Linked DNA regions of Homo sapiens: region 1 is linked to region 2. The links are contacts of gene promoters, found by promoter capture Hi-C in human tissues and cell types (Jung and others, 2019). All regions are on one chromosome and are shown on one strand. The core of a region is centred on a gene start or on the middle of the fragment in contact, and the rest is flanking DNA. Distances in the headings are between cores, read along the strand shown.

Region 1 (7,428 bases), core at 4,870-7,369, 1.1 Mb after region 2:
CCACGCCCTCCCGAGTGGCCTTCTGGTAGGCTCTCCCATGTTCGCTCATTTTCTGTGCCTCAGGCAGCCGCCTCTCTGACTGAGCGTCCAGCGGACTTTTGCCCTGTTTCCCACGGTGCACGGAGCATTTCATCTCAGTGGTGCCTGAGCTTCCCTCCCTCTGGCCCTCAGACCCCGGCTGGGATCCTTGGAGCCAACTCCTCTGCCTGACATCCCGTGTCGCTAGGTCCTGCTCTTCCATCTTCCAATACCTCTGGGGTGTGTGGCCTTTTCCCCAGTGCCCCCATCATCCCTTCTGTCCTAGGTTGAACCGTGTCCCCCACAAACTCATGTCCACCAAAAACCTCAGAATGTGACCTGGGAGTTGGAGATGGGGTCTTTGCAGATGTAAGTAGTTAAGGATCTTGAGATGAGGTCATTCTGGATTAGGGTGGGCCCTAAATCCAACAACTGGTGTCCTTAAAAGAAGCAGAGAGGCCACAGACACACCGGGGAGAGCCACGTGAAGGCAGGAGCAGATGATGGAGTGACGCAGCCCCAGGCCAGGGAGCGTCTGGGAAGAGGCAAGGAAGGACCCCCCCCCCACCCCACCCCAGAGCCTCCCTAGGGAGTGTGGCCTTGCTGACACCTTGATTTTGGACCTCTGGCCTCCAGCATGGGAGAGAACCCGCTTCCATTTTTTCAAGCCCCACAGCTGTGGTCCATTATGGCAGCCACAGGACACTGATGCACCTCCCACCTGGCCGCTGTGGATGGACGACCCCGCCCGCAGGAAGTCTCCCTCAAGCACTGCAGGTGTCTCTGCCCTCACAGGGGACGCCTGCACAAGTAGGTGTGAAAAAAGGGCCCTGTGGGGGCAAGGCCTGGGCTGGTGCTCGCTGCCTCCCTTCATCCTATGCTAGTTCCCATGCCTCTTCCGGCAGGAGTGCCTGGCTCCACCTGGTGAATCAGAGCCAAACTCTCCTGACAATTGGCTGTCACTTATTTAACTGCCACCATCCCCAGGAGACAGAAAATGCCAGAAGGGTGGGGCCTGTGCAGTGCCTCCTCGCTATTTCCCCAGGGCACCGTGCCACGTTGCCTCAATGCACAGAGTAGCTGCTCAAAGTGTGTCGGACGAACAGGTGCCCCATGCCCAGCCATGCAGACAAAAGTGTGCCACGTGGAGGGAGCTGGTCGTGGAAGAGACCACCAGCATCTTGGCTGCCCGAGGACCTTGCCCCTGGGCTCTTGCAGGCACCCCTAGTTCATTACTTCCTCTCTCACCCATAGCTACCCACTCTTCCTCTATTTCTCTGATATCAGCCTTGCCACCCACCCAGGTTTGCAAGCAGGAAATCTCAGAGTTGACCTTGACCTCTGCCTCCCCAGCACCCCCAGGTCTCAACAGGCTGCCAAGATCTCATCAACTCGCCCTCTGCATACTGACCCTTGGACAGGCTGCCCCGGTCACGGTCATGTCTTGGTTGGGCCTCCATCATCCCTCCTTGGACCAGCAGGTGCCATCCTCCCCACCCCTGCCCTGCTGTGGCTCCTTCCCCTCCACGGCCAACATTTAGAGGACGATTACCACTTCCCTCCCTGTGTGCTGGGGACCGGGTGATAGGATCCCTCCACCCGATCATTTCCATTAGACCTGGGCCGGGTCTTCTTACTCATAGAGCCCTTAGTTTCCGCCCCCAAAGCCTCGAGGGTGGATTCGTGCTGCCGCCCAGCCTGGCCCTGATACCGCTTTCCAGCCTGGAGCCCCCTGCTTCTGCGCTCCTGGCTCTGAGTGCTCGGGCCCCCCCTGGATGGGTTGCCACTTGTCCTCTGGAAAGCAGGGCTTCCATGCTCCTGGACCTCCTAGCTGACTCAGTGACTTTGGGCCATCTTGTCACACCCCTTCTATCAGCTTGGCCTTGGTTATTTCTGTGTCCTCCATAGCCTCGGACCAGAGCCACGGCGGGATGCTTTCCTGGTGCGTGGCAGGCAGTCAGGAAATATTGCTGGACTGACCTTGATAGGAGATGCTTGGGAGAATTGCCCAAAAAACTAGCTTAAAATGCAAATATTGGCCTTCTTTTGCGTTGGCTAAAGAGTAGCATTTCTCCGTTTGCCTCCCGGGTAAGAAATTGATGGCGAATGCAATGTCTCTAGGGAGGAGAAGAAGGTGACAAAAAGGGTCTGTATAACGGGGCACACGCTAGGCATTTGTGACTATTTAAGTTTAAATTATAACATAAATGCGAAACTCTTTGCCTTGGTAGCCCTTCCACATTGCAAGCGTTCACTGCCACATGTGGCTGCCATATTGACTACGGCAGATACAGAACATTGACATCATTGCGGAGAGTTCTATGGGGGGGCGCTGGTTTAGATCATCTTCACGTTGGATCCACAAATTCATTGTTTATCCAGTGAACGGTTACTGGGCACCTACTGAGCAAGCAGGATGAAAGACACCCGCTCTCGGGGGAGTCTTCCGTTGGCTGCAGAGAAGCTTAAACTCAGGGGACCTGGGGCAAACTCTGCAAGGGCCCTTGGCCTCTGCACCCCCAGACCTCCCTCGCTCTGCAGGGGCAGTCGGGGGCCCCCTCTAGGAATGGAGCGCCAGCTCCAGCTCCTGTCAGGCTACAGCCCAGATGGTTGGCTGAGCACGAGCATGTGAGAGTGGAATTGGGCCCAACCGGGCTGCTTCTCCCCGTTGTCTTGGTTTCCTTCCACGCTGACCTGGAAGGACTCCTAAAGCAACAGGCCTGCCCAGGCGGTTTGCACCAGTAAACCCTGCAGCGGCCCCAAGGGCAGAGATAGCTGGATTGTATTTATTTAGGAACAGCCAAAGTCTGAGGCACAATAAAAAGTGGAGAAAGATTCCAGAGAGGAATGCAGCTGGCCTCAGCCTGGGAATCCGTCTTGCTTGGGAGGCTGTAGGCGGGCCAGGCTGGGGCCAGCCTGGAGGGTCTTGGCTGGCTCTGCTGGCAGGTACAGTAGCAGGGTCAGCAGGAGGGAGTCCAGGACGGAGCTCCTTCATTTTTAATTCAGGGAAGCAAACTTCAGTGGTTGAGTCTGAGGATGAGCAGGAAATGAATGGAAAAGTCTTTTTTTTTTCTTTTTTCTTTCTAGGCAGGGTCTTTCTCTGTCCCCCAGGCTGGAGTGCAGTGGCACAATTATAGCTCACTGCAGCCTCAACCTGCCAGGCTCAAGGGATCCTCCTGCCTTAGCCTCCTAAGTAGCTGGGACTACAGTTGTGCGCCACCATGACTGGCTAATTCTTAAAAGAAATGTTTTCAGGCTAGGCATGGTGACCCATGCCTGTAATCCCAGTACTTTTGGAGCCGAGGTGGGAGGATCACTTGAGCTCAGGTGCTCCAGACCAGCCTGGGCAACATGACGAGACCCCGTCTTGACTAAAAATACAAAAAGTTAGCTGGGCGTGGTGGTACAGCCCTGTAGTTCCAGCTACCCGGGAAGCTGAGGCTGCAGTGAGTTGTGATCACGTCACTGTCCTCCAGCCTGGGCAAAGGGAGTAAGGCCCTGTTTCAAAAAAAAAAATTTTTTTTTTTTTTGAGGTGGAGTCTTGCTCTGTTGCCCAGGCTGGAGTGCAGTGGCATGATCTTGGCTCACTGCAATCTCTGCCTCCCAGGTTCAAGTGATTCTCCTGCCTCAGCCTCCCAAGTAGCTGGGATTACAGGCATGAGCCACTGTGCCTGGACTTTTTTTTTTTTTTTTTTTTTTTGTAGAGATGGGATTTCTCTATGTTGCCCAGGCTGGTCTTGAACTCTTGGCCTCAAGTGATCCTCCCACTTTGGCCTCCCAAAGTGTTGGAATTACAGGTGTGAGCCACCACACCCAGCAGGAAAAGTCACTTTTTAAAGCGAGAGGTTGTGCGTCCTCTATAGCTTGGCGCTCATCAGCATGGAGGATTTACTGGAACGTGTGTTAGGTGAGGGGACATGGAAGATGGCAGCAAATCCGAGCCCAGAGCATCAGAAAGCATGCTTTCAGCCAAAGATGCGTTCTCTCCACCTCCGCGCAGCACCCTTCCCCAGTGTGTACTCCTGGAGCAAGGTGGGGCCGATCCTACGAAGACCCTTTCCCGAAGGCCCCTGCTGCCCACATCAGTGTCACCTGGACCGCCTGCTCCCTTTTCTGGATGGCTGGACCAGCCCCAGGGCCTCCTGGCCTGGTGTGGGGAGCACAGTCCACCCTGGGGAATGCCTGGTATGTGTCCCCTCCCCACTGGGTACCAGGGGATGAAGCTGTGCTTCGTGGAAGGGGACAGAGGCGCTGGTGCCCAGGATGGTGCACCTGGGGCGGCTGAACTGGACCTGGCTCCTACTGGGCCCCTGTGGAGCCCAGATTGTTGTGAGAAGGGGTGGGGAAAGGCAGGTGATCCGCACCTTTCACTTTTGTTTCACATGGGAACAGGGGCTTATCCTGCACACATATTCAGTTTGGAGTATGAATTTCCATGAAGAGGAAAATCTCTATTAGGCTCTGATGTCAGGATTGTCCGTGAGGGCCGGGCCGTGTTCTGGGGCAAGGACAGGAGTGGAGGGGGCAACCAGGGAAGGCTTCCTAATGGAGGAGGCATTTGATAGCATCTTGAAAAAGAAGCAGTTCCTAGGCCAAGCCAGAGACTGAAGAATGACCACCTAACTTCTTTTTTTTTTTTTTGAGATGGAATCTCGCGCTGTCGCCCAGGCTGGAGTGCAGTGGCGTGATCTAGGCTCACTGCAACCTCCACCTCCCAGGTTCAAGCAATTCTCCTGCCTCAGCCTTCTGAATAGCTGGGATTACAGGCATGCGCCACCATGCCCAGCTAATTTTTGTATTTTTAGTAGAGACGGGGTTTCACCATGTTGGTCAGGCTGGTCTGGAACCCCTGACCTTGTGATCCACCTGCCTCGGCCTCCCAAAGTGCTGGGATTACAGGCATGAGCCACTGCACCCGGCCACGACCACCTAACTTCTTTCTACAAGATGCCCCCTGGCTGACGCAAAGCAGGTTGAGTGAGTGTGACACTTCCTTCCTGTCTGTGGGTTCCGGCCTTTCCAGAGCCCGGCCAGTGCTATTGGAGACAAAGTGGCCTTCGCTCTTCCTTCCCGCCCTGCCAGGCCCAGCCTGTGCCGCTGAGCCCCACTTTGCAATTAAGAGGAGCTGTGAACCAGTGATGCTGATGTCGCAGAAAAGTGGCCAGGGGTCTATGGGGGGTGAAGGACAGGGATGCCGCCCTGAGAACTGTCTGGAAGGGGCTTTTGGGTAACAGTGCCCACTCCAGGGTGTGGGCAGGCTGGGGTGGCTGGGAGCTGGGCTCATAGGCTGGCACAACCAGAGTTTCCCAAAGCCGTGGGCCTGAGGGCCCTGCCTTCCTGGGACAGCAACCTTTGGTCCAATTTGGGAAAAGGTGGGTTAAACCAAGCCCGGCTCCCTCACTGTAGGATTACTCAGTGCGTTTAGTATGCAAATGTGCCTCTGAATCTAAGACAGGACCACAGAAACCTCTTCAGTGTTCCTCTGGAGGGAGGGACCGCGGGGGATCCACCGCAGGGGCCTGGGTCTGCACTGGCCTGGTGAAGTGCCCCCTTAGTGCTTACACCATGCGCGGTGAGAGGTTGGCCCTCGCCTCCCCCACCCTCTGCTGGCCTTACCTCACCACCTCTGCACTCGCCTCCCAGCCGGCTCATGACTAACTCCTGCCTCTTCAGAGCCAATCGGTGCTGCCAGGTTTTCCATTTCAAGTGATCCCCCGCCTGGGCCAAAATGTTTGGATTTTCAGGCACGGAGGGGAGATGGACCTCAGGCCAAACCATGCTGGGTAAAACTGAGGGTCAAGGCTGTGCTCAGCAAGTGCTCCAGCCCTGGCCGTCAAACCCATAGTGTGCACAGCGTGCAGGAGGTGGCTGGGTGAATGAACTCAGTCATAGCCCGGCCCCTCACTCGGGGCTGTTCCCAAGTTCCCACCGCCAGCCAGGCTGGGTCAGAGCCTCGTGGGGCCTTCCTGGGCTTCCCTGCCCCACAGCAGGAGTTCGTATGGAGAGTCTCGAGTGAGGTTAATGGGTTTTCTTCCTCTTCTTTTTTTTTTTTTTTAATTTGAGACAGGGTCTCACTCTTTTTACCCAGCCAGGGTGCAGTAGTGCAATTATAGCTCACAGCAGCCTCGAACTCCTGGCTTCAAGCAATCCTTCCGCCGCAGCCTCCCAAAGTGCTGAGATTACAGGCACGTGCCACCTTGCCCAGCTGGGGTTTCTGCTTTTTACTTTTTCTCTTGTTTCTAAACTCAATACAAAGAAAGATATTACATTTATAATCAGAAAAACCAACAAGGAATATTATTTCAAAATTGGAAAAGGGATTAAAGAAACAAACCAAGAAACCTCTGCGATTCCTGCCCATCGGAGTCAGTGGTTGTTAGTGGTTGGCTTAACACAATGTTTTAGGAAGAAATAGAATAACAGAAAGCAACTCCAGTGAGCTGAGCCCTGGCTCCGTCTGTGGCGCTGCATCAGTTTCCTGCAGCTGCTGTAACGAGTGGCCACAAGCTGGCTGGGTCACAACAACGCCCAGCCATCCTCTCACAGCTCTGCAGGCCACACATCCGAGATCAGGGTCACCAGGCTGAAATCAGGGTGTCCACTGGGCATAGCCCTCTGGAGGCTCTAGGGCAGGGGTTCCCAGCCCCGTGTGTCCTATTAGGAACTGGCCTGCACAGCAGGAGGTGAGTGACTGGCAAGCGAGCGAAGCTTCATCTGTATTTACAGTCACTCCCCATTGCTCGCATTACTGCCCAAGCTCTGCCTCCTGTCTGATCAGCCATGGCATTGGATTCTTATAGGAGAGTGAACCGTATTGTGAACGGCACATGTGAGGGATCTAGGTTGCGTGCTTCTTATGAGAATCTGATGCCTGATGATCTGTCACCGTCTCCCATCACCACCAGATGGGACCGTCTGGTTGCAGGAAAATAAGCTCAGGGCTCCAACTGATTCTACATTATGGTGAGTTGTATAATTATCTCATTATATATTATAATAATAATAGAAATAAAGTGCACAATCAATACAACGTGCTTGTGGCCGGGTGCAGTGGCTCACACCTGTAATCCCAGAGTGAAACTCTGTCTCAAAAAATAAAAAATAAAGGCCAGGCACAGTGGCTTATGCCTGTAATCCCAGCACTTTGGGAGGCCAAGGCTGGCGGATCACGAGGTCAGGAGTTCAAGATCAGCCTGGCCAATATGGTGAAACCCCGTTTCTACTAAAAATACAAAAATTAGCCGGACACGGTGGCAGGCGTCTGTAGTCCCAGCTTCTTGGGAGGCTGAGGCAGAAGAATTGCTTGAACCCAGGTGGCGGAGGTTGCAGTGAACTGAGATAGTGCCACTGTACTCCAGCCTGGGTGGCAGAGCGAGACTCTGTCTCAATAAAATAAAATAAAATAAAATA
Region 2 (7,084 bases), core at 2,164-4,663:
CCTCCACTGTCCCTCAGCAGCCCCATCTGTGAAATGAGATTCTGGATTTGGGGGAGGATTGAAATGAGTTAATAGACATTCAAGTCTTAGAGAGCTGCCTGGCTCACAGGAAGTGCTTGGTAACTGGCAGCTGCTTGTTATGGTCCGGCTATTGTGTGCCTGTTTCAGGACTCATTCAATGACTTGCATTCACAACAACCTTGTCATCCGGGAACGGAGGAAATACTGCTAAGATTGTTTCTCTTCTTGGTTGCTGCCTCACCGCTTGTCCTGGAGCCCAGACCATTGATGTAACAAGGATTTTCTTTCTGAGGATACCATGTTTTATTTGTGATTCAAGCCTTTTTTTTTTTTTGAGATGGAGTCTCGCTGTGTCACCCAGGCTGGAGTGCAGTGGCACAAAATCGGCTCACTGCAAGCTCTGCCTCCCAGGTTCATGCCATCCTCCTGCCTCAGCATCCCGAGTAGCTGGGACTGCAGGCGCCTGCCACCATGCCTGGCTAATTTTTTGTATTTTTAGCAGAGACAGGGTTTCACCATGTTAGCCAGGATGGTCTCGATCTCCTGACCTCGTGATCCACCCGCCTCGGCCTCCCAAAGTTGCTCTATTTTACCTACCATACATTGTCCTCTCAGATTAAAATAATAGTACCTTCAGTTAATAATACCTTGCATTTAGGAAGTTGCTTTCCTCCCATCAGCTCAAAGCCCTCTACAAACATGACCTCATTCATTCTCCCAGGAGTGGGACAGTCCTAAGTTTCCCAGCTACTCATCTCCAACCGGATTCTCAGAAGCCAAAATATGGATTAAGCACTTCCATGTCTCAGGACCACAAATCACGGGCTCTGTTGCTCTCCTTCCTTCTTCCTGAGTGACCTTAGGCCCACAGAAGATAACTAGTACCTGAGTCTCTCTGGCTTGGGGGCCTTGCCCTCCATGCCCCGCCCAGGTGCCCACAGCTGGGCCCTGCAATTGTTAAACATTACATAAACTGGATAAACTGCCTTGATTTCCAGGAAATAACAGGTTTGGCAACTTTGGACTCTTGCTTTCCTTGGGAACTTACTTCTGAATTAAGACCTACGGGCTCATAGGGGACATTCCACTACAGCCAGAAATGTCTCTCCCCAGGGTAGACCCTCCTACTCACGGCCCTGGCATGTTTGACACCCGCATGTACTTATGAAAACCTGGAGCCCCACAGTGACAGTACTTCCTTCTTCTGGGCTGCTTGCGGCCTGAGCTCCCTGGCAGTGTATGCTGCCAGCTGCTCACTTTTGTTTTCACCTTGCAATTACTGGACGGGAAGGCTGCAAGCTATACTGGAGTCTCCAGCCACACGCCAGGTCCCAGCCCACGTGTACTTCAGGGCCATTCCCAGGAAAAAGCTGACTCCTACTCCTTCAAAACAAACAAATAAACAAAAAACGAACCAAATGGAATGAGCTCATGATAGTACCTGAATTTGTTTTTCATCAGTACAGAAACATTAACATTAATTGTAATCTTCTTCTTGTTTGTAAACTTTAAAAATACATACTGTCAAGTTTTCTTAGATAGGGAGTTAAATCCAATTTAGGCAAAGTCAAGATAGAACCACGACGTGCTTTCTTATTATAAGCCTCCTTCTGTTCTGCAGACCTTTAGCTGGTTAAAATACACTCTGTAATTAGTAGTTCAGATAAAAAACTCACAAAGTTCTCCTGAAACAGAAACTCTTAACAGTGAATCCCTAACAATATTTATCTTCCCAATCTCTTCTGCCCCTTCCCCAATCTGCTTAAACTCCTAGTTCTTTTCCTACCCCCACAATTCTCAAACACAGCCCTGAAGATCAAACTCTAATCCAGAAGATGGAAGCTCAGCACATACAAACAAATTTGGGGCCAGGCATGGTGGCTCACACCTGTAATCCCTGTGCTTTGGGAGGCTGAGGCAGGAGGATCACTTTAGTCCAGGAGTTCAAGACCAGCCTGGGCAACAATAGTGAGATCTCATCTCTACCAAAAATTCAAAAATTAGTCAGGCATGGTGGTGTGTGCCTGTAGTCCCAGCTACTCGAGAGGCTGAGGCAAGAGGATCGCTCGAAGTTACAGTGAGCCATGATCATGTCACTCTAGCCCTATCTAACAACCACCACCACCAAATTTTGGACTTTAAAGGGCTACCACTGAGAAACAGTATCTCTGTAGAAACACTCACTGTTTGTTATTGTTTGTTTTTATTTGGTAGAGATGGAGTCTGTGCTATGTTGCCCAAGCTGGTGTTGAACTCCCGGCCTCAAGTTATCCTCCTGTCTCGGCCTCCCAAAGTGCTGGGATTATAGGTGTAAGCCATCCCAACCCCAGACTCCACCCCTACTGCCACCCGTTGTTTTTTTAAAAGATGGTAGAAATTAAAGCTTCATCTTAGCTTTCGTGACAAGCAAGAGAAAAAAAAAAAAAGAAAATTAAAGCTTCAGTTAGGTCAACCGATTTAACAAGAAAAAATTCTTGACTTGGCATTTTGGCCACTGAGAAAGTCTCACTTTTTTCCTTGCATATTTCCTTGCATATCGTATTTATTGTACATAAATCTTGGCTTCCATCTTCAGAGAGCAAAGTCTTTGGTCTAAAAACTGAGAAAATACTGCTCGATCCTTGCGGTGGGTAGTGATTAGAAGAGGGCAGGACGCGGGTTCCTAGGGTGCAAGTAACGTTCTGTTAATTGATCTGGGTGTTCACTTGGTGAAAAGTCTGGAAGCTGTACCTGCGACATCGCACTTTCCTAATGTACGTTATATTTCAATAAAAGATTTTTTTAAATTGGACTGCTTGAAAGTTATTTTTAAAAATTACATGCTTTTGAGACTTGAGCAGCTGCAAAGGCTCTGTTTTCTATTTTGATCATTCTGTTTCTCGAGATGACCACATCTTTCAGAGGAAATGAGTCAAAGCCACTCTGTCTTGCTTTTCCAGCTGAGCATGTTCTGTTTCAATGAAGTAATGAATGAACTTGGCCGCACCACCCCCAAGCCTACAACAGCAAACAGAGGGCCCTCGGCCAATCAGCAGGCACTCCGGGTTTTCAAGTTGAGTTCAAACAGGACCACCGGAGGCCAATCAGAGTGCGCGGCCCCGCCCCGAACGCCCGGCCGTGACCAACCACGAGGCCGGATGAGCCAAAACACAGCGGCCGGCCAATGCTGGGGAGCCCCACGGCGCCGAGCTCCGCCAATGGGCGCGGCCGGGCGAAAAGAGAAACAGTGAGGGCCCCACAGGCCGCAGGATTCGAATCGAACGTCCTTACGGGAGCCGGGCGCTGGCGGAGCGGCGCCCCGGCCAATCAGCGGCAGTCCCCGAACGTTGGGCCGGCCCAGCCCCGCCCCGCGCTGTTGTTTGTGGTGTCGGCCGGGCCGCGGGAGTCGAACCACAACATTCGCCGGGCGGGCGGCGGCGGAGCGGGCGGCGGAGCGGCGGCAGCAGCGGTGAGCGCGAGCCCCGGAGCCCCGGGCGGCCGGCCTCCCGCGCCCGCGCAGCCCCGCGTCTGCGTCCGGCCGGAGACGCCGGGCCCCGCGCCGCGCCGCGCCATGTCGGTGAACATGGACGAGCTGCGGCACCAGGTCATGATCAACCAGTTCGTGCTGGCCGCGGGCTGCGCGGCCGACCAGGCGAAGCAGTTGCTGCAGGCGGCCCACTGGCAGTTCGAGGTGCGAGCCTGGCCGCCGCGGGGCCGGGCCGCGGGGGTCGGGGACGCCGGGCGGCGGCGGGGGCGGGGAGCGCTCCTGTTGTCGGCCCGGAAGGCGATCGGCGCCCGCGAGCGGGTCTTACGCGGGACCGGGGCCGGGACCGGCTCCCCTCTGCACGTGGGGCAGCCGAGGGTCGGGGGCCGCGGGCCGGGCGCGGAGGCGGGGAGAGCCGGTGGGGGGCCCAGCCGCTGCGTTTCCTGACTCCGCCTGGCCCGCCGTGTCACTGCCCTGTTTGTCCGCAGACCGCGCTGAGCACGTTCTTCCAAGAAACCAACATTCCCAACAGCCACCACCACCACCAGATGGTAAGCGGCGGCGGGCAGGGGCGCGGGCCGGGGCCGCTGTCAGCGCGGCGGTGACAGCCATGTTGCCGGGGAGCGCCGCGCCGCGAATGTAAACAAAGAGCCAAAATGTCTTCCAGGAAAGAGCGGCTCCCGGGCCGGCGCTGGCGCCTCCAACTTTGAGGCCCGCCTCCCGGGCTGCTGCTGCTTGGCCTCGGGACTGGTGCCCGGCACTGGTCCCTGGGGGGAAGCGGCGCCAAAGTTGGGGGGAGGGGGAGAGGGCCGGGGGCCTGGCGAGGGGCTCAGGAGCTGGGGGACCCCAGAGCCAGGGGATGGGGAGGGGGAGAGGGTGATGCCCGGACGTCTGGGGCACTGGGAAGCCCGCGCGAAGGGCCCAGGGAGGGCGATGGGGGTGCTTGTGTTTATGGGGACCCCCTCGTGCTGTTGAGTGGTTTCCCCCCTCCCCCTCCACACACACACACACCCAGCGCTACAGGGAACAGGAAAGGCATGAATCCACCCTGGCTCAGGAAGCCGGGCTCTACCCACAAAGATCTGTTCAACCTTCCGAAGCCCAAGGGGACTGGGAAGTTGGAAGGACATACATCCCCCAAGCCAGGAGGACACACAGATTTTGACCCAAGATAAGGCCAGGAATGTGTCTTTAATCTCTGTGTTGAGCTCCACCAGCCCAGCACACAGAGAAGTGGTCCGGGGTCTGGATTTGCTTTCTTTTTCATTCTAGCCCAGGCCCAAGCTTTTGCCCTCCTGGCCATGGGGTACTCTGCTTTCTTGAGGCCCAGGACATCTCTCCTGTACCCTACCCCCCTAGTTACCTATTAGCCCTGCTGGGGGAGGAGGGGCAGGGCTCAGCGATAGGGATCTTAAAACATTGTTCCCCAGGAGAGCTGTTGTGGACTCTAGGTGCATTTTTGGGATTTTTAACACTTGGTGCCCTTGCCTTTGGCTCTCTGTTTTCATCTAGTCACAGAGGACAAGTAGAGGGGTCTGTCTTGACCTTGTTAGCTAGTTTTTCTCAGAATGGCTGATGCTGTATATAAATCAAGCCAAAATGGCATTTGAGTATGATGGGAGCATGGTGCTGGCCACAGGGCTCTTAGAAACCCAAGAGGGTTTCATCTCCAGGGGACACCGTCCCCTGCACTTGACCAGGAGAAATGGCCAGCACCCGCCTATGCTTGAGTCTCGAAGCTTCCTGCCATCTCCTGTCACCGGATCCTTGAGATTTCCTTCCACCAGCTGTGGCCATCCCAAAAAACTCAGAACTTCCAGATACTACAGCCATTCTGAGGGGCTGAGAACAGGGAGGCTCCCCAGGAAGAGCTGGTCTGGCATCCTGTTTAGTTCCTATTGCCCCTCCTCTGCAAATCCCAAGGAGATGCTAAGTCTCTTTTGAAGCTTCCCTCAAGGAAGGCAGCAGGTTTTGTAACACACATAACCAGTGTGTCCATCAGTGCCCAAGTCTGAGTGCCTTAGCAGCACAGTGGAGGACACCATCCCTGCTCTCAAAAAGTTCATGGTTTCTTTTTTTTTTTTTTTTTTTTTCTAATTTTATTTTTGAGAAAGGCCAGGGCAGGGGGAGTCTCTATGTGGCCCAAGCTGGTCTTGAACTCCTGGCCTCAAGCTATCCTTCCGCCTCAGCCTCCCGAAGTGCTGGGATTATAGGTGTGAGCCACTGCACCCAGCTGGCAATTTCTTTTCTTTTTTTTTTTTTTTGAGACAGAGTTTCACTCTTATTGCCTAGGCGGAGTGCAATGGTGTGATCTCGGCTCACCGCAACCTTCACCTCCTGGGTTCAAACGATTCTCCTGCCTCATGGGATTACAGGCACGTGCCACCTGTAATCCCACACCTGGCTAATTTTGTATTTTTAGTAGAGACGGGGTTTCTCCATGTTGATCAGGCTGGTCTCGAACTCCCAACCTCAGGTGGTCCGCCTGCCTCGGCCTCCCAAAGTTCAGGGATTACAGGCGTGAGCCACTGCACCCGGCCTGGCAATTTATTTTGGACAAAGTAAGTCAAAGGAAAAAGATCAAAAAACGAAACACTAGAGACCAGTAACAGCAAAATGGCAAAACCAGAAGTCATGAGTAACTGATAAATGGTTGTCCCGTACATTACTGTAGATTCCCATAGTTGGAAGCTTCCCAGTTGATAAGGAGGGCTTCCCAGTTGGAAGTGGAGAAAGGCACTACAGACTTGAAGTGGGAGGACAAAGGTACAGGGGACAATGGGTTTTCTTGAGAACTGGCCGAGAGGGCATATCTGGTTCAAAACCCTCATTTTACAAAAGCAGAGAGAAGCTCCAGAGAGGTTCAGGAACTTGCCCAAGCTTACACAGGCAGGCCACCACAGGCCTGCCAGCCATCATCCCTGCTGTTCTCTGGCGGCTGTTTGAGGAGACAGGCCTCGCTGGCTGGCGGGGAACTGGGGAAGTCGGTCACGATGCTGTGATGCAATTGGCCTCCACCCCCACCCTTCATTCATTGTTTCCTGCTGCCGAGAAGTCATCCCCAGAGGGTGGGGGGGGGGCAGGGAGTAGTGGAGGGAGGAGGGGAAAGGTCTGGGTGGGGCCAGGCCTCTGCATTGGGTCCTTTGGCCTCCCCCTGAGGACCCCTAGAAAGGCAAGGGTCAGAGCTCCCTTGGTGCCCTGGGTGCTGACATGGTGTGGGGCTCAATGGACAGGGTGTGCTAGTGTCCCCATTCCATGTATGTTACACACCCCCTACACAACCTCCGGTTTCTAGCTGTGAAAGCTCCCTCTGTTTTTTTTTTTTTTTTTTTTGAGACGGAGTTTTGCTCTGCCACCTAGGCTGGAGTGCAGTGACGTGATCTCAGCTCACTACAACCTCCACCTCCCGGGTTCAAGTGATTCTCCGGCCTCAACCTCCCAAGTAGCTGGGATTATAGACGCCCATCACCACACCCAGCTAATTTTTGTATTTTTTAATAGAGACAGGGTTTCACCATGTTGGTCAGGCTGGTCTCGAACTCCTAACCTCAGGTGATCCACCCGCCTCGGCCTCCCAAAGTGCTGGGATTACAGACGTGA

The links. The method cuts DNA at HindIII sites, captures the fragments that hold promoters and counts their contacts. A contact is called where the count stands out against the background at its distance.
Region 1: a contact is called between a fragment that was not itself captured here and the fragment with the promoter of UBALD2 in region 2, in 1 of the 25 tissues and cell types used here (hippocampus).

Annotation. Positions count from the first base shown.
Region 1 is chr17:77,310,647-77,318,074 of GRCh38, forward strand. All of the region lies in intron 2 of SEPTIN9 (septin 9), which reads left to right. Among named protein-coding and RNA genes, the nearest start is that of SEPTIN9-DT, 32 kb to the left of the region's middle. RefSeq lists enhancers at 3,707-4,542, 6,215-7,050. The HindIII fragment of the contact is 3,030 bases long and covers 4,605-7,428 here.
Region 2 is chr17:76,261,935-76,269,018 of GRCh38, forward strand. It overlaps UBALD2 (UBA like domain containing 2), which reads left to right and starts at 3,414. Exons shown (of 3, transcript NM_182565.4): 1 at 3,414-3,691; 2 at 3,973-4,035. The coding sequence starts at 3,572. It overlaps LOC105371896 (a long non-coding RNA gene), which reads right to left and starts at 3,147. Exons shown (of 6, transcript XR_007065913.1): 1 at 669-3,147. RefSeq lists silencers at 54-348, 3,217-3,516, 3,817-3,956 and enhancers at 1,159-1,248, 2,817-2,866, 4,127-4,226, 6,197-6,426. The HindIII fragment of the contact is 4,971 bases long and covers 25-4,995 here.